3 separate regions of the Homo sapiens genome follow, and all the other regions are linked to region 3. Evidence: promoter capture Hi-C in 16 types of primary human blood cells and fetal thymus (Javierre and others, 2016). All regions are on one chromosome and are shown on one strand. Each heading gives the region's core, a stretch centred on a gene start or on the middle of the fragment in contact. The rest is flanking DNA. Distances are from core to core; before and after follow the strand shown. Region 1 overlaps GRIK4 (glutamate ionotropic receptor kainate type subunit 4). Region 2 overlaps GRIK4 (glutamate ionotropic receptor kainate type subunit 4). Region 3 holds the start of ARHGEF12 (Rho guanine nucleotide exchange factor 12).

Region 1 (3,002 bases), core at 102-2,601, 460 kb after region 3:
CTTAGTCTCCCGAGTAGCTGGGATTACAGGTGCCCGACACCACACCTGGCTATTTTTTGTATTTTTAGTAGAGATGGGGTTTCACCACCTTAGCCAGGATGGTCTCAAACTCCTGACCTCACGCAGGTAATCCACCTGCCTCAGACTCCCAAAGTGCTGGATTACAGGTGTGAGCCACTATGCCAGGTTTTGTTTTTGTTTTTGTTGTGTTTTGTTTTGTTTTTGAGACAATCTCACTCTGTCGACCAGGCTGGAATGCGGTGGCATGATCCTGTTGGCTCACTGCAACCTCCGCCTCCTGGGTTCAAGCGGTTCTCGTGCCTCATCCTCCCCAGTAGCTGGGATTACACGCACACACCACCATTCCTGGGTAATTTTTTTGTATTTTTAGTAGAGACAGGATTTCACCATGTTGGCCAGGCTGGTGTTGAACTCCTGACATCAAGTGATCCGCCCGCCTCGGCCTCCCAAAGTTCTGGGATTACAGGCGTGAGGCACTGGTGTCTCTTCTTATAAGGACACTGATCCTATCAGATCAAGGTCCCATCCTAATGACCTTATTTAACCTTAGTTTTGTCCTACAGACCCTATTTTTTAAGGCAGTAATATTGGGGGTTAGAACTTCAGTATATGAATTTGGTGGGACCTGCTGAAGTCCACAGCACACTCTTGAATGTTTACTTTGCCAAAACAAAATGGGGATAGGTGGGACTGCTGGCTCCGGAGCAGACCCTTTGGTGTGTGCTGCCTCCTGTGGTGCAGGCGTAATTGTGGCCTTTGAACACTGATGAGGCAGAGGCAGGCCCAGCGTGACTCTGAAACATGAACAACTACATCAAAACATTCCCAGTCCCCAGGCCCACAGGGGACATGCTCATTTTCTGAGAGATTATTTTACTACTTTATTTATCTTACTACAAGTGATTGTTAAATAGTTAGTAGGTTATAGATGGAAACATTGGTAACAGTGAGCTCATTTGGCCCAAAGGGAAGGATAGCTGCCTCCATGGTCTGAACACCATCTCAATGGGGTGGAGGGAGGACAGGGAGAAGGGAGGAGGGGGAGTTACCTGAGAGAGTTTTCAGAGGTCCAGGGGCAAGCCTGTTGCTATTGGTGTTTTAGGGTTCATTTACAGTCTGTAGATGGAGGCTTCCTTTACAGTCCCTGGAAGCCTCATGCACGCTCCCTAGCGCACCCCCTGCTTCGCAGCAAATCCTTGAGTTTTTATAAGAAGGAAGACAAGCTTGGTCAGGGTGCAAGGTCTGGAGTCAGGCTGACCTGGGCTCACTTCCCTCCTCTGTCATGCTTCAAACCTGTGAGAACGGGCAGATCATGACCTCTCTGACCTCCAATTCCTCGTGTCCAAGTGAAGATAAAATATCCACCTCATGGACTTGTTGCAGAGATTAAGTGAGATAGAGTCCACTAAGTGGTTATGCTGACATTGTAGCTTAATGTAAAGCTTGTGTGTCATGGATCCAGTGTCTGTCCAACTCATGCTGGATGGCACTGCCAGTTCCTGATACTTTAGATGTCTCTTTTCCTTGTTGTACAGCTTGGCTAATTTTTTCCTATTTTATATATTTATTTTGTGACAGAGTTTTGCTCTTGTTGCCCAGGCTGGAGTGCAATGGCATGACCTCGGCTCACTGCAACCTCCACCTCCCGGGTTCAAGCAATTCTCCTGCCTCAGCACCCCGAGTAGCTGGGATTACAAATGCCTGCCACCATGCCTGGCTTTTTTTTTTTTTTGTATTTTTAGTAGAGACGAGGTTTCTCCATATTGGTCAGGTTGGTCTCAAACTCACGACCTCGGGTGATTCATCTGCCTCAGCCTCCCAAAGTGCTGGGATTACAGGTGTGAGTCACCGTGCCTGGCCCCTATTATATTTTTAATAGCAAAACATTTTTTCCCACATCAACTCTTAGGTGGAACCCCAACCCCTGAAATGGATGCAGGTGGAATTGTGATGGTGGGAGCTGGTATGGGGCTGGAGACCCCAGGCAGCCTCCCCTCCACTTCTTGGAGGAGCCCAGGGGCCTGCCAGGGAGGACCATTTGAGAAGCATTCCTCTAGGCTGCCCTGCTTCCTTTCTAGTTGCAAGGTCGTCATTCTCTTATGCCACAGCATGACTGTCTCGGTTTCTGCTTTCTCAGTAGCCATCTCATTCTGGTCGTGCTTCCCGCAGGTGGGGGTGTGGGGGTGATTGAAATGTTCCCAGGCTCTTCAGTCACATTTATGGTGCTCTGGTCACTTCTGCGGGTGGCTAATCACCCCAGGTATGCGTGGACTTTGCTAGTTAATTCCCAGAAGTCCACTTGATTGCCTCGGACTTGGGATGTACCTCTGTCGCCCCATGCATGGCCAACCTGAGTAAATGACATTTAACTTTTATTATTCAATGAAGTTATGCATGTAAATAAATCCACAAATCAAGGAAGAAATGCTTTGCAATATTCTGTGTCCTGATTTTGGGTTTGTGGGATGGATTACAGTGAGTGTGGAGCAATGCACAGAAAAGACAGCATAGAACCTGGATCTCTGCGTCCGCGCAGACATTCAAGGGCCACGTGTCAGTGAAATGTATTCGGCTTGATTCCCTGTGTTGCTTTTCTGAATTCTCAACCTCTGAAAGATAAATATTTCTTTTAATGTAATGGCTTTCTTGAGATATAACTTGCATACCACGTAATTCACTTTAAGTATATAATTCAGTGGTTTCTTTTTGTATATTCACAGAGTAGCACAACTATTATCACAATTTTAGGAACATTTCATCACCCCCAAAAAGAACACCACACGCATTAGCAGACACTCCTCATTTCTCCCAACCCTAGGCAACCACAAATCTTTCTGCCTCTGTGGATTCAGCTATTCTGGACATTTCATATGCATGGAACTGTCCAATATGTATTTTTTTGTGTATGTCTGGCTTTATTTTACTTAGCCTAATGGTGTGTTTGTTTTTTCAGATGGAGTCTCGCTCTGTCACCCAGGCTG
Region 2 (2,930 bases), core at 313-2,812, 350 kb after region 3:
TGTTTTACTCATTGCTAGGCAGAGTAAAACCAATGATCTTAATCCAATTAAAGCCTGAACTGAGTCCCTGCCGGGTTGTGTTTTGGTCAGATTTAGTTTACCTCTGGCTCACTCCTTTCCCAGAGCAGAGCCACCATTAGTTGAGAGCCTCCTGTGTTTACTGGGTCCCCTCCCCAGCAGGTCCTCAATTCTAGTCTTGCTGTTCAGTGCCTCAGAATGGCCAGAAAACACTCTCTGCTTTATAGAGACTTTCGGCTGAGATTTTTTGGCCTTCTCCTCCATTCAGCTTCAGAATTCTGTAAATGACTTAAGGAGAAAATTGGGACCCTATATTTGAGGACCCTCAAGTCCTTAATTTTCTCTCTCTAGTCCCAAGGCTGCCAGAGCTCTGCTGGCTTCTTTGTCCCCCAGCAGCAGTCTTTGCTTCTTGCAAACCTGGGTTCTCAGCCTCTCATCCTGGGCCTAGAAATGACATACCCTCCGGAAGTGATTACAGAATATCAGCTCACCTCTTCACACTTTCCCCCCTCAGTAACTGTATCCTCTCCCATCCTTCTTGCTCCAGCAGGTCAATGGTGCCTTGAAACAGATGATTGTTATATTTCTTCTAGCATTTCTAGTTCTTAGTGGAAGCATTGATTGGCCACAAACTATCCCACCCTACCCCGAAGAGGAAGTCAGATGCTTACTATTAACACATAAAAACCACAGGATTACAAGAGCAGCTCTTAGCTGGGTGTCTTGGTAGCTGGCCCAGCCAACTAGGAGCAAACACTGTTTAAGGCATTCCCTTGAGTGTCTGGGCTGCCTCACCATGAAGAAGGCAGGGAAATGGATGGGAGTGTAACTGTGGGCCCAGGAAGAAGGCATTCACTGGGATGAGGAATGAGTGTTCAGCAAGCCCAGGAGGCCTCGATACTTCATCAGGTTTCTAATGATTTTGTCAGAGTGTTAATCCCATGGGTGAGTAGCAGCATTTTGATACCAGCAAACAGATTGTGTTTCAGCCCAGATAATCCAATATGGAGATCTGCATGAGAGCCGAAAATAATTAATCACATTTTAATGGGGTTGAGAGAGGCTAGTCAAGGATGCTTTACATTGGAAGTAGAGCAATGGGGGTCAGAAAGGGCGTGAGATGTAAGAGAGAGGTTGAACATGGGAGTAGCCCATATATATGCCAGAATGGAGTGTGCTTATGGATGTGGTATGGAAGAAAGAGAGGTTGTATGTGCAGAGAGCATTGTATGGATATTCCCTTCCATCACAGAAACCTTTCTGCACCAGGTCTTGGGAAAACAGAGATAAAGACCAAAGTCCTACCCTTCAGGACTTCACAGTCTGATGGTAGAGGCTGACAAGTAACCAGATGATCAATAACAATAGTCCTAGGTGCTAGGATGGAAGAAGGCCCCTGCTGCATTGGGAGCACCAAGCCCAGTCAGGGCTTGGGTAAGCCACAGGGATGGGTGGAGGGCCTTCCAGGCAGAAGGAACAGGTTGAGGAATAGTGCTGCTACAATATTGAGATAACACGGACATAATTCTATGGAAACCGGAAGTTTCCATTGCCTCTGCCCTTACCCTCGTCGAGCCTTCATAACCTCTTGCCTGGCAAGAGCCTCCTACCTGCCTCCCATCCCTCACTTCTTGAGCCTATTCTAAATGTTGAACCCATGCTTTTCTTCCCAAAATACAGACCTGGCTGTTGTTGACAGCCCAGGAATTTCTTAGGGTTTCTCTTATTTATGAAATACCAACTCCTTAGTGTGCAGTATCCCTTCCATGATCCAGCCATACCCACCCTCCTTTCCTTCATCATCTTCCTCCATTCCCTCCCAACCCTACACTGCACCCCTGTTCTAGAGTTCACTTGGCCACTCAGTATTCCTGTAGACAACCAGCACTTTCTTTGTCCCTTGGCTTTCTTGGTGGTGTTCCTTGTGCCTGAAATGTCCTTTCCTGCCATCTTCACCTGATGAAAAGTCTACCCTTTACCTCAGACCCAGATCACATATCACCTCCTTTCTGGAAACTTCCCTGATCCTCCCAGTCCAAATGAGTCATTTCTCTTCTGAGTTACCTGATAGTTTCCTCCTCTGTTAAAATAAATCACACTCTGCTCATCTCATAGCAGCTTTTGTCTCTGTCTGTTGGTTACTCCCACACCCCCGCCAGGGCAAACTCCTTGAAGGCAGGAGAACACCCTTTCATCTCCATGGTCTCCACCACAGCTCCTTTGGTGCCTTGTGCATTCCTGGTGCTCGATAAATATTTATTGATCGAATGAGTAAATGAGTATCGAATGGGCTTTCCATGTGTTTTGCTCCAGGTGTCTCTTATTGTAATTAAAGTTTTTTTTTCCTTAGTCAATTTCAGGCAAAAAGCAACATAAATTTTATGTGAGGTTTGAGAAGGACTGTAAAAGTGATTTATGGTTGGGTAGGAGATCTGTGCAAACAGGTTAGGAAAATGCTCAGAGTCAGCTTCTACCTGCTCCCCTCGTCACTCCAGACCCTAAATGCTGAAGCATAGCTGCCCTGTCGTCCTGGTGCGTGAGTGGCTTTAGTGTCTGGTGTTGAAGTGCTGAATAAAAAATGCTCACTCCTGAGAGCATGGTAAGATGTTTGTGGGTAGTGTTCACATAGAATGCCCTGCAGCTTGATGTTCGAGAATGATCTTTTGTGTGGGCTTGTGCTTCTAGGCACATCTCTATTGTCCAGCCACATTCTCCCACTGCAATCCTTGGCAAAGCACACATGGGGCTGAAACCTGTGACCCTGCCTCCTGGTTTCACGCTCTCACCAGCTGAGCCCCCACACTGCAGCAAGAACTGGCTGCGCCAATCTCTTTTTATTCTAAGAGTGAAGTCGAGCATGGGCAGCCAGGCAGCTGGAGCCAGGGCCCTACCTGTCATGAATTGGAAGCCGG
Region 3 (2,700 bases), core at 92-2,591:
GTTGGCTGTGCCTTGAACCTAAAAAATCGAGCAATAAAGAGTCGTCTCTGGTCTCTGTTTATCTTTTCCTTTTTTTCCCCCCCGTTCTAACTAACGTCAGCGTGAGCTCATGCCTCTATTCGGGGATAATGATCCTTTCATGAACTGTTGCGGAATGACTTTTTGCAACAGCATTGTTAAGAGGTAATTGTTTCCTCTCTCCACATCCACTGTTTATTAGATTTGATTTGCTACTTGGATTCCACAAAATGGCTGAAATCCCTTGTCACCAACATAGGTTTAAGCTCAAAAGTCTGAAAATAGTTGGATAAAGGGAATAGCCACTTTGGATGTTTGCAGGCAGAACTGAAGAACTGTATTACATGTGGTACCTAAATTGCCAAAATACTGAATTATTCAATCATAAAACTAGATGGGTATCTAAAGCTCTCTACCCAGTAGGGGAAAAAACCGAAAAACCGTTTGGGAATCCTTCAGAGAGAACCGTAATGCTATTTACTGGATAAATATACTTCATTTTCTTCTCCCAGTTCTTTCCACAACACGCTTGTTAAGTCGCCATGGAAAGCACCATGCTTTATCAATTTGGCAAATAACACATTTCATTTTGCCAAGGCAGAAACAGCCTAAAAGTAATATTTATACCGAGAAACCCTGGCTGCAGTCCCCAGCTGCTCTCCCGCAGCCCTGCGCCTCCGGCTCATGCAGCGCTCTCCCCCCGGAGCCGGCAGGTGCCCAGGTGAGCGGGGCCTGCGGAGGCAGCGAGGGGCGCCGGCCGGGAACCGGCAGAACGCGTGCAGCCAGAAGACAGGAGAGATAATACATTCCCTTAAGTAATAAAAGTTTCCAGGACAAGGGGGGCTGGTAATTTTCAAAGAGCCTCCCGGCACGATGTCCTCGGGATCTGGGGGGCGCTCTCGGGCGGTCTCTGGTGAAAGTCGACTTAGTACAAACTGGACTCGAAGGGGCATGTCTCGGCACTCAGGGGCCCAGGCGCCGCGGGAGGTGGGTGGGCCTCCCGGGGCTGCACGGGTCCCACCTCCCTCTGCCCCGTAGGACTACTTTGCCGCTCTCCCAAACCGGGCTCCGGCGGAGGCGTCCGTTCAAGGGCGAGAGCGCGGCCCTGAGCGGCGGAGGGATCCCGGGTGAGGCGGCTTCCCGAAGTCAGAGGGGAGGGGGCCATAAAGTCGGCGGGGGACGGGAAGCGCGAGCTCGCGCCGGACGCGGCCAGGGCCGGGAAACCAGAACCGGAACCGGAACCCGCGCGCGCGCCCGCGGTTGCGCGGCCCCCACGGCCGCCGGCCTCCTCCGCTGTCTGCGCGCGCGCCCGCGAGGGCCTCCAGAACCCGGCGAGCCGGCCCTGCGCCGGGAGACGCCGCCGCCTCCGCCTCCCGGACCAGGGCTTCCAGGCCGGGCCGGACGGGCATCTCCCGCCCCTCGCGGGGAGCGTCGGGGAGGAGCCGCCGCCTCTGGCGATTGCGGAAGAGTCCGGGCCTCAAAGGGATGGGGAGCAGTCCGCGGCGCTGAGAGACCCGGGTCCCTGTCACCTCGGGCCGCGGGACCTCTCCGCCGGCGCCAGCGGCTCGTCCCAGCACCGGGAGCCTGGTGAGGGCGGCGAGCACAGAAGGAGCCCCGGGCCCGGGACATGGAATCGCGCGAGCCCGGCGCGGGACGGCCGGAGACGCGGCCAACGCTGCGGCCACGAGCAGCCGGCAGCCCCAGATAGAGAGCCGGGAGGGAGGGCCCCGGCCCTTGCCGCGGCGGGGAGTTCGAGGCCCCGAGACTCCGGAGGAGGAGCCGACACCCGTCCGTGAGCTGATCCCGCCCCAGCCCCGGCGGGAGTCCCGGGTCCCCTTCCCACTGCGCGCGGATTTCCCTCTCTGAGGAAGTTTATCCTTGTGCCTTCTGGAGGATTTCTCTCTAGCTCGACTCACTCTGGACTGACTCGCTCCCTGGCTTTCTCAGTTCGTTTTGGGAGATAACTTGTTTTGCTCCAAGCCGCATCCGTTGACCCCTTACAGTCGGATGGTCTAGATGACTGAATGGAGTTTTGAGTTGGACTTTTGTGTCCCTGACGGAGTTGGGCCTGATCCCAGAGCACTGGGGGTGGGGAGGAGGTGTTACTGTAAAATGCAAGTTGGATAAAAGGAGGACCTCTCGCCAAGGGCCCCAATGAGTGGCACACAGTCTACTATCACCGACAGGTTGGTATGAATTCCTCCTTCGTTCGGCCTCCCGGAATCGGGCCCGACCTAGCAGGGGAGTCGGTGATTGCAGATTGCCTTTGGCCAGCGAAGTTGACAGGCAGAGGAAAGAGGGTTGTTTCGGAGCTGTGCAGTTAGCCTGGGGTTGCTGCCGAGTTATCCAGTTGATTGGCTTTTGGAAATGTAATTTTTCCGGAGAGAAACTTCCCTTCCGATTCTCAGAGAAGGGGGAGGCAAAACCATGATTGTGGTTTTCCGCCTGTAGTGTGCATTAGGATTGTGTACTCGTCTGGAAATCAGAGGAGAAGGTCATTTTAGGTGAAGGTCGGTGCCTGAAGTCGGCTCGGTATTGGTGTATTATTTATCAGCTTTAGCCGTGTCCTGCAGTAGATTCTCAAGACAATTACATTTTAGGAATTTCTACCTGTGAACTTAATGTTGAGCCTACTGCATGGTGATCTGGGAACTTGATCTCTTTCAGATGTTGACCTGCACG

What was found. The method cuts DNA at HindIII sites, captures the fragments that hold promoters and counts their contacts. A CHiCAGO score of 5 or more calls a contact.
Region 1: a fragment that was not itself captured here is called in contact with the fragment with the promoter of ARHGEF12 in region 3 in 2 of 17 cell types (total CD4 T cells and total CD8 T cells); the score reaches 6.2 in total CD4 T cells.
Region 2: a fragment that was not itself captured here is called in contact with the fragment with the promoter of ARHGEF12 in region 3 in 6 of 17 cell types (total CD4 T cells, naive CD4 T cells, naive CD8 T cells and 3 more); the score reaches 13.5 in total CD4 T cells.

Annotation. Positions count from the first base shown.
Region 1 is chr11:120,798,273-120,801,274 of GRCh38, forward strand. The region is part of intron 3 of GRIK4 (glutamate ionotropic receptor kainate type subunit 4); the gene reads left to right. Among named protein-coding and RNA genes, the nearest start is that of TBCEL, 220 kb to the right of the region's middle. RefSeq lists an enhancer at 458-1,132. The HindIII fragment of the contact is 219 bases long and covers 1,243-1,461 here.
Region 2 is chr11:120,687,657-120,690,586 of GRCh38, forward strand. The region is part of intron 3 of GRIK4 (glutamate ionotropic receptor kainate type subunit 4); the gene reads left to right. Among named protein-coding and RNA genes, the nearest start is that of GRIK4, 180 kb to the left of the region's middle. The HindIII fragment of the contact is 6,971 bases long and covers 1-2,930 here.
Region 3 is chr11:120,335,072-120,337,771 of GRCh38, forward strand. ARHGEF12 (Rho guanine nucleotide exchange factor 12) reads left to right here and starts at 1,342. Exons shown (of 41, transcript NM_015313.3): 1 at 1,342-2,204. The coding sequence starts at 2,173. RefSeq lists a silencer at 929-1,798. The HindIII fragment of the contact is 6,393 bases long and covers 1-2,700 here.